Linked DNA regions of Homo sapiens: regions 1 and 3 are each linked to region 2. Evidence: promoter capture Hi-C in human tissues and cell types (Jung and others, 2019). All regions are on one chromosome and are shown on one strand. Each heading gives the region's core, a stretch centred on a gene start or on the middle of the fragment in contact. The rest is flanking DNA. Distances are from core to core; before and after follow the strand shown.

The links. The method cuts DNA at HindIII sites, captures the fragments that hold promoters and counts their contacts. A contact is called where the count stands out against the background at its distance.
Region 1: a contact is called between a fragment that was not itself captured here and the fragment with the promoter of STARD5 in region 2, in 1 of the 25 tissues and cell types used here (hippocampus).
Region 3: a fragment that was not itself captured here is called in contact with the fragment with the promoter of STARD5 in region 2 in 1 of the 25 tissues and cell types used here (dorsolateral prefrontal cortex).

The regions. Positions count from the first base shown.
Region 1 is chr15:82,074,451-82,077,928 of GRCh38, reverse strand. No RefSeq gene overlaps it. Among named protein-coding and RNA genes, the nearest start is that of LINC01583, 12 kb to the left of the region's middle. The HindIII fragment of the contact is 5,623 bases long and covers 1-3,478 here.
Region 2 is chr15:81,322,363-81,325,571 of GRCh38, reverse strand. STARD5 (StAR related lipid transfer domain containing 5) reads left to right here and starts at 1,431. Exons shown (of 6, transcript NM_181900.3): 1 at 1,431-1,571; 2 at 2,624-2,673; 3 at 3,032-3,164. The coding sequence starts at 1,473. It overlaps TMC3-AS1 (TMC3 antisense RNA 1), which reads right to left and starts at 1,239. Exons shown (of 7, transcript NR_120365.1): 1 at 1,011-1,239. RefSeq lists a silencer at 890-939. The HindIII fragment of the contact is 12,739 bases long and covers 1-3,209 here.
Region 3 is chr15:82,175,296-82,178,561 of GRCh38, reverse strand. The region is part of intron 15 of EFL1 (elongation factor like GTPase 1); the gene reads left to right. Among named protein-coding and RNA genes, the nearest start is that of EFL1, 86 kb to the left of the region's middle. The HindIII fragment of the contact is 3,059 bases long and covers 1-2,848 here.

The DNA.
Region 1 (3,478 bases), core at 280-2,779, 750 kb before region 2:
AGGCTAGAGTCAGTGGTGTGATCTCGGCTTACCGCAACCTCCGCCTCCCAGGTTCAAGCGATTCTCCTGCCTCAGCCTGCTGAGTAGCTGGGACTACAGGCGCCTGCCACCACGCCCAGGCAATTTTTGGATTTTTAGCAGAGACGGTGTTTCACCATGATGGCCAGGCTGGTCTGGAACTCCTGACCTTGTGATCTGCCCACCTCGGCCTCCCAAAGTGCTGAGATTACAGCCATGTGCCACCACACCCAGGCGTATTATATCAATAACAATTTCTTAGTTTTGACAAATGTACCATGATTGTGTAAGATGTTACTAGTAGGCAATGCTGGATAAAGGGTATACAAGAATCATATATGCCATCTTTGTAACTCTTCTGTAAATCTAAAATTATTCCAAAATTAAAAGTTTAAAATAATTTTTAAAAAGTCAATCACCAAAAAGTAAGTACATTTAGGACATAGATACATGCAAGACATGTGTAACATAACTGAAAATCACAGATTTTGGAGTCGGACGTACCTGGTTTCTCATCCTGGCTGCCCCAATTGCTAACTGCAATGTTGGGCAAATTTCTTTATTCCTTCAAGCTCTGTGTTCCAATCTCTAAAATAGGAATCCTAATTATATATACTTCAAGGGGTTCCTGGGAAGAGTAAATGAGAAAATACTGGCAAAGTGCCTTATCATAGTGCCTGATTGCCTGATACATAGTAAGAGCTCAATAAAAGTAGCTTTTATTATTCTTGCAGGTGATCAAAGAAATGCAGAGTCAAACAATGTTGGCAAATGATTTCACACCTACTGAATCGGCAACAACTGTGATCCCCAGTGCCTGACAGAGTGTGCTGAAACCGGTACATTCATAAACTGTAAACCAGTACAGCTATTTGGAAAAGCAACGTAGCAATATAGACACAGCAAGAGACTGCAGAAATGGTCACAACCTTTCGCCCAGACCTCCTCTTAATGATTTGCAGGGTTCCAGGCAAGGGTATAAATGGAGCCTCACATACCATATGTATAAGTAGTTTAAAGTTAGAAATCAGGTTACAAACTGTTAAATGAAAATATGTTCTAGCCTCCTGCCTTGGCAAATATACTGTCACCACCACCTGGAAGGGCTCAAGTTAAAAATTCTCAGATGCCTCTGCATCCTGTGTTGGAACATGACGGCATGGGGAGAGCCAGTTGCTAGCCCCCAGACCCACTGTCTTTCCAATTCCTAAGTCTGTCCAGCACTGAGGGGGCCTCATGTGAATGTGAGTGGACAGCCTAGCCCATGCGTCCAAACTCTGTTCACTACCCCCTGCCTGTGGCCACTCCTCAGATCCGGGTGTGTCTACTGGTGGTGTGATTGGATCTCAGGAGGAGAGACTCAGGGACCAGGGCTGGGCAGGCCCTGGAGATGAGCATGGGGCCAGTGGGCAGGGACTTCTGGGAGTCCTAGGCACCTGGAGAATGGTCTAAAAGGGAGGACGTGGATTTGCAATGGGCATGTTCCCTTGGCCTGCAGACTCCTCACCAGGTGGGAGGGACGCAGCCCAAGGAGGGCCAGGGGGACACCCCCTGCCTGATCTCACTGCAGTACTCCTTAGAGTCCATCCAAAGGAAAGAAATAGTTCAGCAGAATAAAAAGGCTACGGGCACAAAGATAGTATCACTGTGTTGCATTTGACACTAAAAAAACCCAATCTAATGTTCAACAGTAGGGAAATGTTAAGACAACAATGATAAAGCTATTCAGAGAAGTAGTATGCTACCACCAACACTGGCACATGTGACAACCATGTCATAACATGGGATAATGTTTATGTGTAGATATAATAGTAAATGAACTCTGGCAACTGTGCAAACATCTGTGCGCCCTAGGTGAGATGCGGAAGTCAACCTGCAGACATGAGAACAGCTGCCTCAAAGAGGGTTGAACTCTTTCAGGCAGCTGAAAGATTTTCCTCCCAAAATTGTCTCTTTCCTGTGGCTGGGGAGAAGCAGGGACTTTTCAGGAACTAATGGGTAAGAGCTGGCTGGTTAGACTGGAGTTTTTTGTGCAACTCTACTCAGGAGTTGGAGATAAGAACCTGCTACCTGCTGCATGGAAGCCAGAAAAGCACTTTAGCTAATCACACTCCCTCTCTGCGTGGGCTGAAGATATCCTTGAGTCCTCCCAGCCCTGAGCCCTTCTCCAGGGGCCAGCACACCCAGAAACCACGCGTGCAGTGTTTGCTCTGGATGCCCAGGATAGTCTCTGCTGCGCGTGTGAAGCTCTGCCATGGGCTGGGTATGGAACGGGCCATGTCACACTGAGTCCTCGCAACAACCTGGTGAGATGGGAGCCTCAGCATGGCTGACTTGGACACTGAGATGCTGGTCCAGCACCACGCAGTTGGCAAGCAGAGAAGCCAGCCTTTGAAACTCTGTGCTTCCATTTGGGCACGTACACTGGGAAATCAAAAGGCAGTGTTCCCTTTCTCCCCACAAACTGCTTCTAGTGTCCCATGGGGCCAGAGGAACTCAATCAAAACAATATTCCATAGATGTGGGATAGTGGTAGCACAAATAAATTAACAATTGCACTTCTGGGCACTCGACTGTCCCCACGGTTCTAAAAATGAAAAGACTCTGGTATTTAATTTATATTTTATAAGAGTGAAAAAGGCCAGGCACAGTAGCTCACACCTTTAATCCCATCATTTTGGAAGGCCAAGGTGGGAGGATTGCTTGAACTCAAGAGTTCAAGACCAGCCTGGGCAATATGGCAAAACTCTACAAAAAAATTAGCCGGGTGTGGTGGTGCATGCCTATAGTTCCAGCTACTCAGAGACTGAGGTGGGAGGATCACTTGAGCCTGGGAGGTCGAGACTGCAGTGCGCCAAGATAGCACCACTGTACTTCAGCCTGGGAAACAGTGAGATTCTGTCTCAAAAAAAAAAAAAAAAAAAAAAAAATTTGATAATTGCCTTTGGTAAGGAAGAGCTGATTTTAGCATGGAACAGAGGGTGGCAAACAACAGCCTTCAAGCCAAATCTATTCCACTGCTTGTTTTTATATGTCCCATGATCTAAATAATGGGTTTTACATTTTTAAATGGTTGGTGGGGGGAAATGTGAAACTTACATGAAATTCCAGTCTCCAGATCTATAAATAAAGTTTTATTGGAACACAGCCACATTCAGTTGTGCATATGTATTGTCTACGGCAGCTTCTGCACTATACCAGCAGAGTTGAGGAGTTGTAACAGGGAGATCATATGGCCTGAAAAGCTGAAAAATTTTACTATCTGGTCTTTTACAGAAAGACTTTGCTGACCCCTGAAATGGAAGAAGACTACAGGCCTAGTTATTTAGTGATAATTGAACCCAGCTTTCATTGTTTGAGTAGCTTCTGCATGTCGATTGTTAAGCTTTACTTACCTAGATTACTTCAAATCCTACAAAGTACATATTATCGATCCCCTGAGCAAAGCTAGGATATTAGC
Region 2 (3,209 bases), core at 182-2,681:
GAGTGCAGTGGCGCGATCACGGTTCACTGCTGCCTCTGCCTCCCGGGTTGAAGCGATCCTCCCACCTCAGCCCCCCCAAGTAGCTGGGATTACAGCCCCGCGCCACCATGCCCGGCTAATTTTTGAATTTTTAGTAGAGACGGAGTCTCGCCATGCTGCTCAGGCTGGTCTCGAACTCCTAGGTTCAAGTGATCTCCTGCCTCAGCCTCCCAAAGTGCTGGGATTACAGGCGTGAGCCACCGGACCCCGCCAGGAACATTTATGATGTATCCCATTTCACCTTGGAGTAAACTGAAGCTCAAAGAATAATGAGTGAAACTGGGTTTAGATCTTGAGCTCCCTAATTCCCCATCCAGGTCTTCTTCACAGCCTGGCTGCCCTTCACATCTTCCAAAAAGGTCTTTCAAGTTGTCAATTTGTTTACACTACTCTTCCAAACATTTATATCGAAAGTTTAAAGGAAACAATAAGTACATAAAAAAGAAAGATAAGAAATAGACCTCAGTATTAACCTTTTCAAATATTTAGTTGGTGATAGCGCAGAAGAGGGGAAACCGAGGCTGTCCTTGCCATTCACGCTGTGAAGATGCGACCCTGGCTCACTCCCCGCAGCTCCAGGGCAGCTGGAAGCAGAGAACTCCCATATCTCTAATAAAGCCGGGCCTCTCGCAGATGTCAGCGCATTGCATTGACTCCTGGACACCTGCACTAAAGGCCCTTCAGGCACCTCCAACTAAATATGCCCAGAACTGAACTCACCCTATCTCTTCTCCATCTCAGGTAAGCTGCCAGGTGGCCAAGGCTGGGAGTCATGATGCTTTCTCCTTCTGAACATCCACAATCGGGGGCAGAGACCTTCACCTTCCATCTCCTAAACACTCTACGATGGGTCCTCTTCTCTTCACCCCCACTCCCCGCACCCCTGCCACACACCTCTCCCACCATTGCACGCGCCCAGTCTCCACGCGCATTTCCTCTCCCACCCTGCAGCAGCCGCCCTAGCATATTACCTCTAATGCAAATCGCACCACTGTCCCGCAGGCTGAAAGCCTCGGTGCACTCAGGACAAGAGTCCACGCTTCTTAAACAAACGGTCGACGTTGTCCGCGACCTGGCCCGGCCCAACGGGTCAGACCGTCATTGGCCATCTCACAGTCCCGGCGCTCCAGAGCCCCTCCCACAGCGGGACATGAAGGAGGCGGATACGGCTGGACCTTACCCGGCCCGCCCAAGGCGTCCGGGACCCGCCCAGGCGCTGACGCTAACTGGAGAGCCTGGCCCCGCGGTCTCCTTGTCCTGCCAATCTCCGGGAGGCGGGATCCGTCTGAGGGCCTGGACCAATTCGGGAGCGGGGGCGCGGAAAGAGGCGGGGCTACGAGCTCCTCCCAGAGCTCCAGCCTCCAGGCACCCGGGATCCAGCGCCGCCGCTCATAACACCCGCGACCCCGCAGCTAAGCGCAGCTCCCGACGCAATGGACCCGGCGCTGGCAGCCCAGATGAGCGAGGCTGTGGCCGAGAAGATGCTCCAGTACCGGCGGGACACAGCAGGCTGGAAGATTTGCCGGGAAGGCGTGAGTGAGGAGCTGGGCGGGAAGGGGTCGCGGAGACGGCTTCGTGGAGCCCGGGTCCCCAGAAGCCCCCAAGCGCCTCCTCTCCCCGTTGTTTTCTGCTCCCCAATCCCCTGGACCCGATTGAGAGGGATTCCAATGGGGATTGTTTTCTTCTTTAAAAAAAAGATTGGGCCTGTTATGCTCACAATGACTTCAGGTGGTAAGTATCTGTTCCTTTCACTCAGTGACTTGCCCAAGGTCACCTGGCTGTTGAATGCTGTTTAGGACTGGATGTTTCTGTGACAGTGGTAAAAGTAAATAAATTGCATTTAAGGGGTAAGCAGGTGTTTAAAAACAAAACAAAATGAAAGAATGTGGTCGCAGCTAAGGAGGTTTTTACATGTTGTTTAAATCCAGTAAAGTCTGATCCAGCATCTGATGCATACTAAGGTTTTCTTCTGTGTTCATTACAGCATGAACCCCTCTCTTTGTCGTTGCCAGAGGGTAGCATGGGAGTAGTTTTGCTTGACCCTTCTGACTTTTCATTACAGCATGAACCCCTCTCTTTGTCGTTGCCAGAGGGTAACATGGGAGTAGTTTTGCTTGACCCTTCTGACTTTTCATTACAGCATGAACCCCTCTCTTTGTCGTTGCCAGAGGGTAGCATGGGAGTAGTTTTGCTTGACCCTTCTGACTTTTCATTACAGCATGAACCCCTCTCTTTGTCGTTGCCAGAGGGTAGCATGGGAGTAGTTTTGCTTGACCCTTCTGACTTTTCATTAAGTAGCCCTGGGTTGCTCAAGGAAACAGAATGCCTGGTGGCTTTTAAGATAATTTTAAAAACCACCCACGGCTCTTGGAGTCAGCCAGTTAAGATCTTTTTCTTCATCACATTCTGCTGTGGGGACAGCTTTGCCCAAGACTAGTCCCAGCTTTTCCACGTATGGGTTGCACAGCCTTGGAGAGTCGTATCTCTTGAGGCCTCTTACCCCTCTTCTGTAGAACAGGGGATTAAGCCAGGTGACCAGAGCCCTTCTAGCTCTAAAATTCTGTGGTTCTGTGCCTTTTGACAGAATGGAGTTTCAGTTTCCTGGAGGCCATCTGTGGAGTTTCCAGGGAACCTGTAAGTGCATGCCTCGTTCAAAGATTACCAGAGGTGCCGCACCCTTCCTGGTATCTTTATGGGCCTGCCTCCTAAAATATTCAAATCAACCCTATAACCTGTGATCACTTGTCCTCCAGAAAAGCCTTACTGTTTTTAATGAAATCATTTCCAGCAAACTGTATTCTTGTGAAAGCTTACTGTCCATTTCTGCAGGCCTGAAGGGAGGCGGGGCTAGTGACTTTCAGCCCCTTCTCTGCAAGTCTGTCCTAAAGAGTAGTGACAGACATGGCATGGTCCACCTTCTAGTCCTTAGATACAATCTCAAGATAACAAGTTTGATTGATGCGTTGGGGTCAAATTCCTTTTCGTGCTCCAGGTACCGAGGAGAAGGCATTGTATATGGGACACTAGAGGAGGTGTGGGACTGTGTGAAGCCAGCTGTTGGAGGCCTACGAGTGAAGTGGGATGAGAATGTGACCGGTTTTGAAATTATCCAAAGCATCACTGACGTAAGTCTTTCCAAGCATGTTATCTCTAGATAGTGTCTGGGCCAG
Region 3 (3,266 bases), core at 70-2,569, 850 kb before region 2:
GAAGGCAAGAGTAAAACCTGAAGAACTGACCTCTGTAAGACATTGGGTCACCACAATGCCTTTTTCCCTCTAAGAGAGTGAAGCACAAGGAAGGAGCATTTCCACTACTCCAGAAACTACTGCAGAGTTTGGGCACCCTGACAACCCTAGTGTTCATGTATCTATGGCAAGTGTGAGCTCGTGGGCCCATGAGGAATTTCCACTAGGATGCCCAGATTAGTTGATAGACACATTCCAAATAAGGCCCCGTATGAACTGGTGTGGACAGAGAGCCAGTGTGATTTGGTGGTTATTATTAATCAGACTTCACTGGTAGTCATAGGCTGGGAAGCCTTGAAAAAATTGTTTACATTAGTCTGTCTTGTGAAAGCTTCTTCAAAGATGCTCTGTCAGCATGTTAGCTTTGTATTACAGTGGAATTCTTTAGTTTGTTGCTGATAAATCTAAAGAATGCTTATTGAGAAAAGACACCTGAGTATCCCTGATAGAGTAAAGGGGCTTCCCCTGAAAATCCCTTATGACTCTTCTATTTGGGGCCAATTAAAAATGACAATCTTACCTCACAGTATTTTTGGGGTCTTTATTCAGAGAGTCACATATGCAAGACCATCACATTCCATACTATGGAAATCATCAACTTGAAATAACTTTCACATTATTTTCCTAACCTACATTTTGCAGCACTTTCTCTCTGGTTTTCTCAGAGCCAAAGAAATATTTCCCATGATGTGAGCTGAGATTATTTTACTCTGCTAGTGGTTAGATTTTGGCAGTGGTAGATGGTAAAAGTGGAAGGAGACACTTGAAAATTCTTTGGGTAGTGTGTTGGATGTTTTTTAATAAATAAATAAAGGCAGCAGTAGAGAAGCATGTGGTGCTGGGACTTGTTTTGCTTTCCCAAAAAATGAAGCAGACCAAAATCAAGGAACAGTTTTCTGAGCCTTTTTGAGCGTCTTCCAATGGGTATTTAAAAGACCAAAAACTTCATGTGAACCACAATGTCAGGAGCCAGAGGGTAGACAGAAGTATGCAGCCAGGAGGAGGCTGTTTACACGCACTTGAATAAGGAAGTGATTTGGTTGAGGACAGACCTGGCCAGGAGAATCAGTGTAAAGACTTCGCAATGAAAGCCACATTTTATTAGTCATTAGAGGATGTGGAGAAAAAAGATACAAGGAGATGAACCATGTGCTCTCCCCTTTGCTGCCAGTTCTTTTTTAAAGGTTCTGAAATGGTTTATTTTTATTAGTTGCAGTTATTAGCATCTCTAAAAGACTCAGAAACACTTAAAATACCCATGTAATTTGTGTCAAATAACATTTTAAGTATACTTATTGATGCATAAGATGCACATAGAAAAGTATGCAAATCTTAAATGCACAGCTTGATGAATTTTCATAAACTGAACATATGCCAGTGTAACTAGTACCCAGACCCAGAAACAGAACCTTACAAACATCCCAGAAGCCAAGCTCCTTTCGAATTACTGCCACCGCACCCCTTCACCCTATTAGATTTACCTGATTTTAAGCTTTATATATAGAATGTGCTCTTGCATTGGGCATTTTTCATTTAGCATTCTGTTTATGAGGTTCATCCATGTCATGGCACATGGTTGTGATTTGCTCATTCATGTTACTGTGTTGTGTGACTACCAGTTTATTTATCCACTCTTCTGTTGGTGGATATTTAAGTAATTTCCAGTATTTGACTATTATGAATATTGTCACTTTGAATATTCTTATACATGTCTTTTGGTTAATGTGTCTGCTTTCTGATGGAAGAGAAATTATTGGGTCATAGAGTAGGCATATGCTCAAGCTTAGTCAATGTACCACTTTATGCTTCCACCAGGGGTATCTGAAAGTTCCAGTTGCTCTGTATCTTTGTCCATACTTGTTTTTGCTTTCATTCGAGTCATTTTTGTGTGTATGGGGTAGTATATTACGTAGATTTTGCTGGTGACTAGAGAAGTGAAAGGTCCTTTTCATTTATATATTGACCATTGTTGTTTACTGATTTGTGGGATGCCTGTTAAGTCTTTACCCACTTATAGATTCTCTGCCTTTTTTGTATTGATTTATAGGCATTCTTTATATATTCTGCATAAAAGTCCCTGGATGGGTATATGTATTGCAAATATTTTCTCCTTTGCGAGTTATCTTTCTGCCATCTAATGATGTCTCTTGATAAACGGAAGTTCTTAGTTTTAATATAATCTAATATTTTTCAATTTTTTCTTTTACGACTAACGCTTTTTGTGTCTTGTTTAAGAAATCTGCTTATTCCAAAGTCATGGTGATATTCTATGTTGTTATTCCATAAGCTTTTTTTTGTTTTACTTATTGTATTTAGATCTGCAATCCGTCTGACATTGGTTTTTGTAACAGAGGTCAGGTGGGAGTCAATGTCAATTATTTTTTTCAATCAGGTATCTGGTTGACTTAGAACCATTATCACATCCCCACTGTACTGCAGTGTCACCATTGCCAAATATCAGTTTGTGTAGTTTACATCTTCAATAATGGCAGCTCTTTAATTCAAAAATTATAGTAGCTTGTGTCTAATAACTTTTCCTGGTAAAAATTATAATTTTTTGGTTTTAAAAGATTACTTGTAATCTCAATACTAGCATTCCTACAGTTTGTATTTTAGTTATTATTATTCTATTTTTATATCATCCTATTTACATTGAATTACATATTCTACTTTATTTCTAAGTAATCTTCAAAATTCAGTTTTTAAGATGTAGTCTTGCTCTGTTGCCCAGGTCTTGAACCTCCTGGGTTCAAGCAATTCTCCCACCTCAGCCTTCCGAGTAGCTGGGATTACAGGTGCCTGCCACCTTGCCGGCTAATTTTTGTATTTTTAGTAGAGACGGGGTTTTGCCATGTTGGCCAGGCTGGTCTTTTAACTCATGACTCCCAAAGTGCTGGGATTACATGCGTGAGCCACTGCACCCGGCCAATACTGTGTTTTTATAACATAAAATTAAAACCCATAACTACTGTAGTATAAAACCCCATTCATATTGAAAATGGTATTAATACCAAAAATTCAACCTGTAGTTCTGGTTATTTCATTGATCTACTAAGTAAGAAAGAAAATGTGAAGGTTGTATTTTTTCAGTCCACAATAACAGAACTGCTTCTGTTCTTGTGCTGCTTCTCACCAGGAAGTAATGCGTGCCCTGGAAAAGATAACTGGCTTGACTTGAAATGATCTGTATTTGCTTAAAAATTAGTTAACATTCTAATATTGTTACT